Regions from separate parts of the Homo sapiens genome. Here region 1 is linked to region 2. The links are contacts of gene promoters, found by promoter capture Hi-C in human tissues and cell types (Jung and others, 2019). All regions are on one chromosome and are shown on one strand. Each heading gives the region's core, a stretch centred on a gene start or on the middle of the fragment in contact. The rest is flanking DNA. Distances are from core to core; before and after follow the strand shown.

The links. The method cuts DNA at HindIII sites, captures the fragments that hold promoters and counts their contacts. A contact is called where the count stands out against the background at its distance.
Region 1: a fragment that was not itself captured here is called in contact with the fragment with the promoter of DLEU7 in region 2 in 1 of the 25 tissues and cell types used here (H1 embryonic stem cells).

What each region holds. Positions count from the first base shown.
Region 1 is chr13:50,802,726-50,807,762 of GRCh38, reverse strand. It overlaps a transcript of DLEU7 not described here. Among named protein-coding and RNA genes, the nearest start is that of DLEU7-AS1, 2.6 kb to the left of the region's middle. The HindIII fragment of the contact is 3,253 bases long and covers 1,034-4,286 here.
Region 2 is chr13:50,842,417-50,847,313 of GRCh38, reverse strand. It overlaps DLEU7 (deleted in lymphocytic leukemia 7), which reads left to right and starts at 3,622. Exons shown (of 2, transcript NM_001306135.2): 1 at 3,622-4,126. The coding sequence starts at 3,668. All of the region lies in intron 4 of DLEU7-AS1 (DLEU7 antisense RNA 1), which reads right to left. RefSeq lists an enhancer at 3,766-4,692. The HindIII fragment of the contact is 10,732 bases long and covers 1-4,897 here.

The DNA.
Region 1 (5,037 bases), core at 1,411-3,910, 39 kb after region 2:
GACACTCCCCACAAAGGGGAGAACAGTAAGTTGCAGTCTGATGAAGTCATATGATGCCCGGGCTGGCTTATGAGTAAAGAGGTGAGAAGGTCTCCTACTGAAACAGATTTTCCCTCTTTCTTCCCCTTACAATAGCCTTTCAAAGTTCTTGAAATGTCCATTAAGGAATTCCTATACTTTACTTTTGATTTCACAATTTCTCAGTCAAAAGCTCAATATCATTGCATAGGATAATACATTACCTTAAAAAAAAAAACACCAAAAAAACCTCAACACTCAAAGATTAAATTTGTGTTTGGAAAAGGCTTTATAGGCAGTGGTACCTGGAAACTGGTGCTTGAGAGAAGCAGGAGGAGGGAGGGGAGATGTCAAATACCATCTTTTAAAAAATTTGTTTGTTTTTGATGACCATCTTTAAGAGATTTTTAAATGCCATGTATGAATTCAAGAAAGAGAATAAAGCAGGATTCTAAGAAATAATAGAAAGCTTCTTAAGGAAGCCGGTATAGTATCATTTTATATCTCTGATATTTCTGCTCATCTACTAAAGCTCATTAAAACCTATTAATGATTAGGAAATACTTATGTTTTATGAAATGTATAAAAAAATTTAAAGATAACAATCTAAACTCTCTTTAAAAATTAATTTTTATATATATCTTAACACCATTTAACACACTTAATTTTAGTACTTCTTTACTAAAGTTTGCGGAGGCAGACTACTCTTAAAAGTAGGAAAAAAAAAGGCAGAGGAGCAGACCGACTTTTTTTTTTTTTTTTTTTTTTGAGAGGGAGTCTAGCTCTGTCACCCAGGCTAGAGTGCAGTGAGTCTAGCTCTGTCACCCAGGCTGGAGTGCAATGGTGCGATCTCTGCTCATTGCAACCTCCACTTCCCAGGCTCAAGCAATTCTCCTGCCTCAGCCTCCCGAGTAGCTGGGATTACAGACTTCTGAAATTCTGAATAGTATAAATACAACTGGAATTACACTTTATTTTTAAATATACATTTCTAGGTAAAAACATAATTAAAGATCAAATAATTTTGGTTAAATTTTAAAATAAGCCCAATATGTAACTAAATAAGTCTTAGCAGAAAAATGTGAGGATAAAGTTGAGATTGCTCCTATTTTTTAATATTTATAGCATTTATTTATTTGTAATTACTTGTGAAGTTTCAAGTATTAAATATTACTCCGAGCTGTCTAATATGAGTCAGAATTTAGGGCAATAGAAAATATAAAACAAATTTTTCCTTACTAATACATGTTTTTTAAAAAGTTGTGTTTATGTTCTTCATTGAGAACTAAATAATCACTAAAAGAATTGCAGAAGTCATAAAATCATTAAATTAAGGAGAGAAAATCTCTATATATTCAGGATAAAGACATTTAGTATGCTAAGATCTCTATCCAATGGTCAAAAAACAACCAACCAAAGATGAAAATAAAAAATAATTTCTTGGAATATTATCTGAGGACTTCCAATTTTAACATGCAGAGCTAAGTGAGTATTTTCTTATTCATATCTCAGAAAAACCAACCAAAACATCAAGGGAATCAAGAAAAACAGTAATGCAAAGCTTATCCTTTGTAAAACTAGGAAACAACAGAGATTTTTAAATGAGAGAGAGAGAAGACTTAGTGGCATAGGACATAGGAAGTACCAGAGTGAAGATGCCTGTGGATTCTGAGCTTCAAGAAAGTCATAAAAGCACAATTCTAAGTGATACATACTGAAATGTAAATGGAGGTTTTTACAATAGAGGGCAGCAAACCACTTCTTATACAACCAAATAGTAAATATTTTAGAATTTCTGGGCCATATGGTCTCTGCCATAACTATCAAATTCTGCCACTGTAGTGCTGAAGCAACCATGTACAATAAACAAATGGGCATATCTATATTCCAATAAAACTTTACTTCCCAAAAAAGAAAGCTAGCCAATGGGCTATAGTTTGCTGATATTTGTTCTCTAGCAATAAGGGTGTGTCAGCTTGACTGAGTGCTTCCCTGGGCCTCAAAGTGGTGAGGTTTCTAGAAAAAGGAAAGGCGATAAAGCTGAATGAGAAGTGGTAGGAAACTGCACAAAGAAGACAGGGCATTGCTGAAAGCATAGCTAGACATGTGGAAGACGGAATTAGAAAAAAATGAGTAAAAAGAATAAATAAAAAAGATATTTAAAAGGGTTATATGATAGATGCAAAATATATAAAAAAATCAAACATATGCATAATTGGTGTTCTTGAAGAAGAAAATCAAAATAATAAAACAATAACTGTTAGGATTATTACACAAAAATTATGAATATAAAGCATTATTAAACAAAATCCAATTACACATTAAAAAACTAACACACCATGAGCAATTATATTTATTCTAGAATGCAAGGATGGTTCAATATTAGGAAATCTATTAATATATTTCTACCACACTAATAGATTAAAAATCATGTTTCTAGATGCTGAGAGACATTTGATAAACTCCAACATCCATTCTTACTAAACAAGCAAATAAACAACAAAACAAAACTGTCAATAAATGGCAATAGATACTTCCTTAACCTAGTGCAATATACTAATCTCAATCTAAAAGCTAGTGCTATAATCTATAAGGAAACTCAGAAATATTTATATTAATGTCAGGAACAAGACAAGAATGTCTACTACCACAACTATTCATAGACGTTGATCTAGACATCCTAAGCAATGCAGTTTTACAAGAGAGAAAGAAAATGTATACAAATTAGAAAAGAAAAAGACAAATAATAATTGCTTGTAGATTATAAAAGTAAAAATTTTATTATATAAAAAGTGAGCCAACTGAAAAAAAATATTAGAACAATAGTGGAATTCAGTTAGGTCTTTGGTTATAAAGTAAATATATACAATCATCATCCTTCCTATATTAAAATAAAAAAGGCATAATAGAAGAAAATACTTCATTTTTGATAGCAATATCACTAGAAAATATTTAGAATAAATTTGTCAGATGTGAAAACCTATGTAAAATCTTTAACTGGCTGGACGTGGTGGCTCCTACCTGCAATCCCAGCACTTTGAGAGGCCTAGGCTGGCGGATCACCTGAGGTCAGGAGTTCGAGACCAGCCTGACCAACATGGTGAAATCCCATCTCTAATAAAAATTTTTAAAAAATAGCTGGGTGTGGTGGTGCATGCCTGTGGTTGCAGCTACTCAGGAGGCTGAGGCAGGAGAATCACTTGAACCCAGGAGGCAGAGATTGCAGTGAGCTGAGATCATGCCACTGCACTCCACACTCCAGCCTGGGTGACAGAGTGAGACTCTGTCTCAAAAACAAAAACAACAACAACAGAAAAAAAAAAAACCCCATAAAACGAACAACATTACACTGTCTCTTGTGGACACAAAAGAACACTTGAACAGATATAAAAGTATATTATATTCTTGGTGAGGGAAACTCAGTATCAGACAGTTTTCAATTCTCTCTAAAAAAATATAAACATTTAATACAGGTCCTATAAGAATATCAATAAAATTTGGGAGTCTATATATGATTCTAAAGTTCATATAAAGGAAAAAAACAAGCAGGAATAACCAGGAAAATTCAGGGGAAAAAATAGAAAATACATGGTACTAGCCCTACCTGACATTAAAATATTTAGGACGTGATGACATTTCAATTAGTGGGAAAAGGGTGAAATTAATAAATGTTGTTCATTCTAGCCCTCTAAAAAATTAATATTGGATTCTAACCTCAGACCTTACATCAAAATGATTTCCTGATGAATCAAAGATTTCCACGTTAATAAAAATATAAAAATACTAGGACCCACCATGGAAAAGTTTTAAAAGTATTGTAGTAAGGAAGATCTCTTTAAGTCCATTACAAATCTCAGAAGTCATAACAAAAAACTGATGAATCTGACAATATAAAAATAAACTGGGCAAAAAATTTGCAGCTCACATAGTAGACTAGCACTGTCAATGGAAATACAATGTAAGCTACACGTGTAATTCTAAATTTTCTAGTAGTTAGTGTAAAAAGTAAAAAGAAGTCTGTTTTTTAAAGAAATGCATCACCTTTTTTCTTTAATTAAAGAAATTAATTTTAGTAATATGTTTTATTTAATTTGTCATATCAAAAATAATTTTATTTCAATAAGTAATCAATACAAAATATTATAAATAAGATATTTCTATTCCTTTTTGTTCCAAGAAATCTGGTGTGTATTTTATAATTACTGTGCATCACAATTGGAACTAGCCACATTTCAAGTGTTCAAGAGCCACATGGGGCTGGTGGCTACCATATTTGACACACTTTAATGGGTTAATTTTATTAATGTAGAATATTCTAATATAGAGAGAATTATATCAATAAGGAAATGTCTAACAACCTAATAAAAAAGGGCAAAGCATTATTAATTCACTAAAGTTGAGAGAATTTCAAGTTAAATTATCAGAAAATATTACTTCACATCAGATTGACAATGATCAACACATTCTATAACATGCTGAGTCCATGAGGAAGGGGAGAGTGAGTCGTTTCACACACTGATGGTTAAAGTATAAATTCGTACAATCTTAGTTGAGGGAAATTTGTCAATATCTATCAAAATGACAAATGCACATACCTTTGACCTAGCAATTCCAATTTGAGGAATGTTTCCTACAGATGTATTTGCAAATGTGTGAAATGATTTATGTACCAATGACCTGTTAGGCTATTGGTTATACATGTAAAAATCTGAAACTGCCTAAACGTTATCAATAGGGAACAGGTTAAATAAATTATGAAACATTACACAATGAAGTGCCGTGTGATAAAAACTAATAAGAAAATATATTATGTAATAATGTAGAAGCCTATTTAAGCTCTATTGTTATGTGGATAAAAAGACAAGGCACAGATAAGTATAAATAGCGTGGTCCCAACTGTGTAAAAAAGTACATGTACATGTATGATATACACATGTACAGACATATAAAACATATCTGGAAATATCCATATATAATTAGTAATTCAGGTCGCCTCCTGTGAGGAGAACTGGTTGTCTC
Region 2 (4,897 bases), core at 2,373-4,872:
TGGAGGGACCTTCTGGCAGTGCCTTGCCTAAGGGGCACTGGGTCACAGGGTCACTCCATGAACATGCCATCTTTCCTATAACATATGTCAGGCTATTTGCTTCAGCTGTGACTCCTTCTGTTGCAGTAGGCAGTAAATCCAATCCAAAGAGGCTTAAGCAAAAAGAGACTTCATCGGCTCGTATAACTGAAAAGCTCAGAGGTGGGGCTGACTTCCTGTGCTGCTAAATGTGGACCTCAAATGCTGCTATACAGCCACGGTTTCTCTCTATACATCTGTTGGCTTTTGTTTCATGAACGTCTTCTCTCCATGAGTGCTGGCTCATTCATAGGCGGGCTGTCCCCATCAAACTCACAAGATGGCTGCAGAGGCTCCAGAACTTGTATCTTCTCAGCTTTACTTGCACAGGGGTCACTGAAGTCAGATATTTGACAGTAGAAAGATCAGCCTCATGAAACTGGACTTGCTGTGTATTGATAAAGAGAAGCAGCCCTGGAAATCTGATATATTCTTTACCTGGAAACCCCTGCAAAATCCTCATTGTTCTCTGTTGCCATTGCTGATGCTTGGTAACAAAACCTTGCTTCATATCAAGTAGTTTTCATCCTCCCTCCACCAATTGCTTTGAGAGAGGCTAGGCTCAGCCCCAACTCCTACACTGAATTCTAGTTCACCTTAGACTCTCATGGTAGCCTCTTTCCTCTTGACTGTGATTAATTAGGCAAGAACATGTGACACAATTCTGGTCAAGGAGATGTGAGAGGAAGCCAGCTGAAGGCTTTTGAGAAGTGTTTCCTTGCTCTTGAGAAGGAATACACAGGAAAAGATGGCCTTTTCTTCTAGTTATTGTTGTCTAGACATGATGCCAGCAGCTGCTAGTAGCCATAGGAGAACTAGCCCAAAAATTAAGGACAAAGCTGATGTGCTGGGAATGGCATGGCAGAAAGAAGGAAGGAACAAAGGGCTTTGATGACACTGAGGAGCTGCTATATTAACCAACTCTGGAGCCACTCTGCCTTTGGACTTCTTGTGATGTGAGACAATAAATTATTCTTATTGATTAAACTATGTTATGTTGAGTTTTCTGGTTTAAAGGGAATTTGATCTTTTGCTGTTTCATCTCTTGGCCTACACTTCTTTTTTGGCCTGTACTCTTTGCATCTGTTGTTTTCTCTTTTACAGTGCATTCAGCTGAAAGCATCCTAAAAGATACTGTCTCATTGGCTCTAGCTGGGTCATGTGCCCATTCCTGACCATGCATGCACTGTGGGGATGTGATGTGTGATGGGACTTAGGCTAGATGATCCAGTACTCTTCTGCAGTGAGATGGGCTCATCCCATCTGACTTCACGGGCAGAGTGTGGAGGAAAAGGCATATCTACTGAGAAATGAGGGTATGATTTCTATAAAATAGTGAAATATATGTTGTGAAACAAACATATCAGATATCTAATACTTTGTCCTTTTGAATGTGCCCTTTATTACAGAATGGCCTCAAATCGTGAGTACAGTGGGTAAGAAGTAGGCTATCTGTTACTTCGTCTGGTAGCCCAGCAAACGTAACTACGGAGGTGTTTTAGACCAAAGGTAGATCTGCTATGCTATTGACTCATCTAAATAGACTATGAAAATTTTTCCTGAGTTAGGCTCTCATATCTCTAGCTTTGGAACACAAGCCATTTTGAGATCATAGCAAAACACAGTGCGACCCACAGCCAAAACAGACAAAACACTCAGTTGCCAGATGATCCAGGGCTTCCTAAGAATACTAGAAAAAGCAGGCAGCAATTTAAGCAGCATGTGCCATCCCTCAGGCCCCAAGGTTTTCTGGCACCCTTCTGTCATGCCCCCTGAGGTTCAGTTGGTCTCATGGCTCTGACTCAGTGTGGTATGTAGAAGAGTGGGGCCTCAGGTCAGCCTGTGTCTAGTGATTTCAATTCTGCTCTTGGCTGCAATTCCAACTGTCAAGAAAGTTTTGCAGTCAGCCATTTGATAGTGGAAGGGTTAGCCCATGAAACTGAATTTCCTGTGTATCTGGAAAGAGAGGCAGCCCTAGAGATCTGACATGCTCTGTGAAAATTAGGGGTTCATTTTTGCTATTGCTGGTTAGTCTCTGCTGAACCTAATATATTTCAACATTTGAAGACTTTTTTTAAAAAGAAAATTTTTTTCTTTCTATTTTTTATTATGAACTTAAGTAACTTCATGGCAAAAAAATCTAATCAACATTAAACTATTTACTTCCCTCCAAAGTAATTTCCTCTCTGTCAATGCACAGACGTGCATTTTTACTTAGTTATAATTAGTGTGAACATACTCGTTTTTGTTTAAGAAAGGTTTTCTTTACCTTGGCATTCAGATTCGTTTTCATAGGCGAAGAAAGCACTGGGAAGGAGAAGGAACCTTTGCTGGCAAGTTGGGAGGATTATATGGGGTCATACTATCCCAGGGTTAAGGAAACCTTAAAGGACCCAACATCCCTCTCCATATCTCTTCTGATGATCCTTTTGTGCTCACAGACTAACCAGTGTGGCCTTTTCACTCAAAAGCCTCTCCAGATCTGCACAGCACCAAGGGTGCAGTCTGGCTCCCAAAGGAGTAATGCAATTCCATCCTCAGGTCTGCCAGGGCCCACCTGTCTGTCGTGGGCATGCACCATTGCCCTGGCTTTACTGGGCTGTTGGGTTGTCTAGTGGTTTTCCTTGCAGAAAGCAAGCAGGAACAATGCTGCTCCGGACTGGTTTTCCATACCACTCCTCTCAAATATCTTCTATTTTCTTAAGTGTGATCACACACCCATGGTTTCCAATCTATCAAAGCATAACATTGCTAGTCGCTTTTTTCTAAGTTAAGGAAGTAGCCATGTTGGGTTTAATTAAAAACAGCAACTATTTGTACAGCTGTCCCTAAGTTCATGGCTCATAAAAGGATTAACTTCAACCTTGCTGCCTAAGTCTTTTGGGAGTGTCACAAAAAAACATTTAGGCTTTTCTGGGCAGTGCCAGGCCTGGGCCTTGAGGCTTGCTGATGCTAGTTCAGCCACCAGGCTCTCGGTGCTCAAGTGGCACCCAGCAAAGCAGAGAAGAGCAGAACTTCCAGATACACAACTCCTCCTTCTTTTGTTTGGGGGATGCAAGGCCTTGAAGGCTGCTTCAACAAGTTTCTGAAAATTCCCCTCGGGTTGGGAAAGGCACAGTCTTCCTTTTGCAAGTTTTTCTAGAGCCCTTCGTACTTTTGCCCTAGAGTGGGTCTTTTGCACCCCCACCTCCCAGACCTCAGTGGTCATTGGCAGGCATCCTTCGAAGGAGGTGGGGGCGGGGTATCCCCGCCGATGGATGCGCCCGCACAAAGCAGCACGTTTTCTCATCAAAGCCCTGGAGAGAGGGAAGAAGCAACGCTCAGCATTTCGCTGATTTTCAAGTGCACACCGAGCAGCGCTTCAGGCAGCTTTGGGTCAGAACACGCCTGATTCGGACTTCAGGCGAAGGCAGAGGCCAGCACGGGTCACCGATTCAGAGCCGGGGGCGGGGCCGACCACACACGCTGTGAGACCCAGAGGCCGAGGAGCCGCGGGTTAGAAAATGTGACCTTGGCGACCCCAACGCCCCCGCCTCCCTCGCTGCTGCTCCACCTGCACGCGGAGCGCGCCGGGCCGCCAGCGGAGGCGATGGCCAGCCCTGCGCCCTTAGTGGCCTCCATCAGCCACCAAATGGTGGCTCTGCAGACCTTGCAGCTGCTGCAGCAGGAGTGGGGCTGGGGGGACGGTCCAGTCGCCCCCGGGAACCCGCGGGACCCAGACCACGTGTCCACCGCTCCAGCCCGTCGCTCAGGCCCGCCGCGGGCCCGGCCGGGGCCCGGGCGCGAGGAGCGGGGCGGGGGCGTGGGGACCAGGAGTCGGCGGACCGCGGCGCGGGCGAACTCCCCAGAGGAGGAGGTAGTGCGAGGCGCTGAGGGGGGCGCCGAGTTGCTGCCCTTCCCCCGGGACCGCGGGCCCTGCACCCTGGCCCAGATGGCGATGCGCAGCGCGCTGGCCCGCGTGGTGGACTCGACTTCGGAGCTGGTCAGCGTGGAGCAGACGCTGCTGGGGCCCCTCCAGCAGGAGCGGTCCTTTCCCATTCACCTGAAGGTGAGTCTGGCCCCCGCCATCCCCTCTGGCGTGCAGGGTAACCTCCCATCCTCCAAGGGTGGGGCTGCTGGGATGGCGATGGGTGGATCGCAGGATCCCAAACACTGCTGCCCACTGTGATTCAGCCCCAGTGGGAGAAGGAAGGGGGCGGGGGACACTCTGGGGACTCAGCAGGAGGGGCAGGGAGCCCCAGACCCACCTGAGGCCCGCCTGGCTGGCACAACCGAGATGTGGGGACTGCCTTGCCAAAACCTCCCCCTGGAACTCCTTCCTCTCTCACATAAATCAGCTTCCTGCGCTAGAAAGGCCCTTTCCACACGTGCAGCTTGTAGGGATAGAGGACAGCTCCCCCCACCCACTTTCCAAATTAATAACGCTTCCTCCAGAGCCTTAAATACACTTACTAAGTCCCTTCTGCCTTTTGTATGATGAAATCATCTACATTTATTTAAAGTTCCTTCACATTCATGAATCACTATTATTTTTTGCATAAATCCAATTCCCCACAGAGCTAAGGGGTCTTACAGAGTCAACCTACATTCTCATAAAGTGGGGTGAGAGCTGGGTGGGTCCCGGGTGTTAAAGCGTGAATACTAAATGCTAAACTCTTGCTAAGTCACCCAGCTCATATAGGTAGGGCACATTTCCTCTTAAGGTACCAAACTGTGTTAGCCAATTTAGCCCGGGAAGGGAGCAGCTGTCTCCCAGGCTGAGTGAGATTGCGGAAATCTGGGGGTCTGGGTTTCAGTCCTGGACTTGCCATTAACTAAC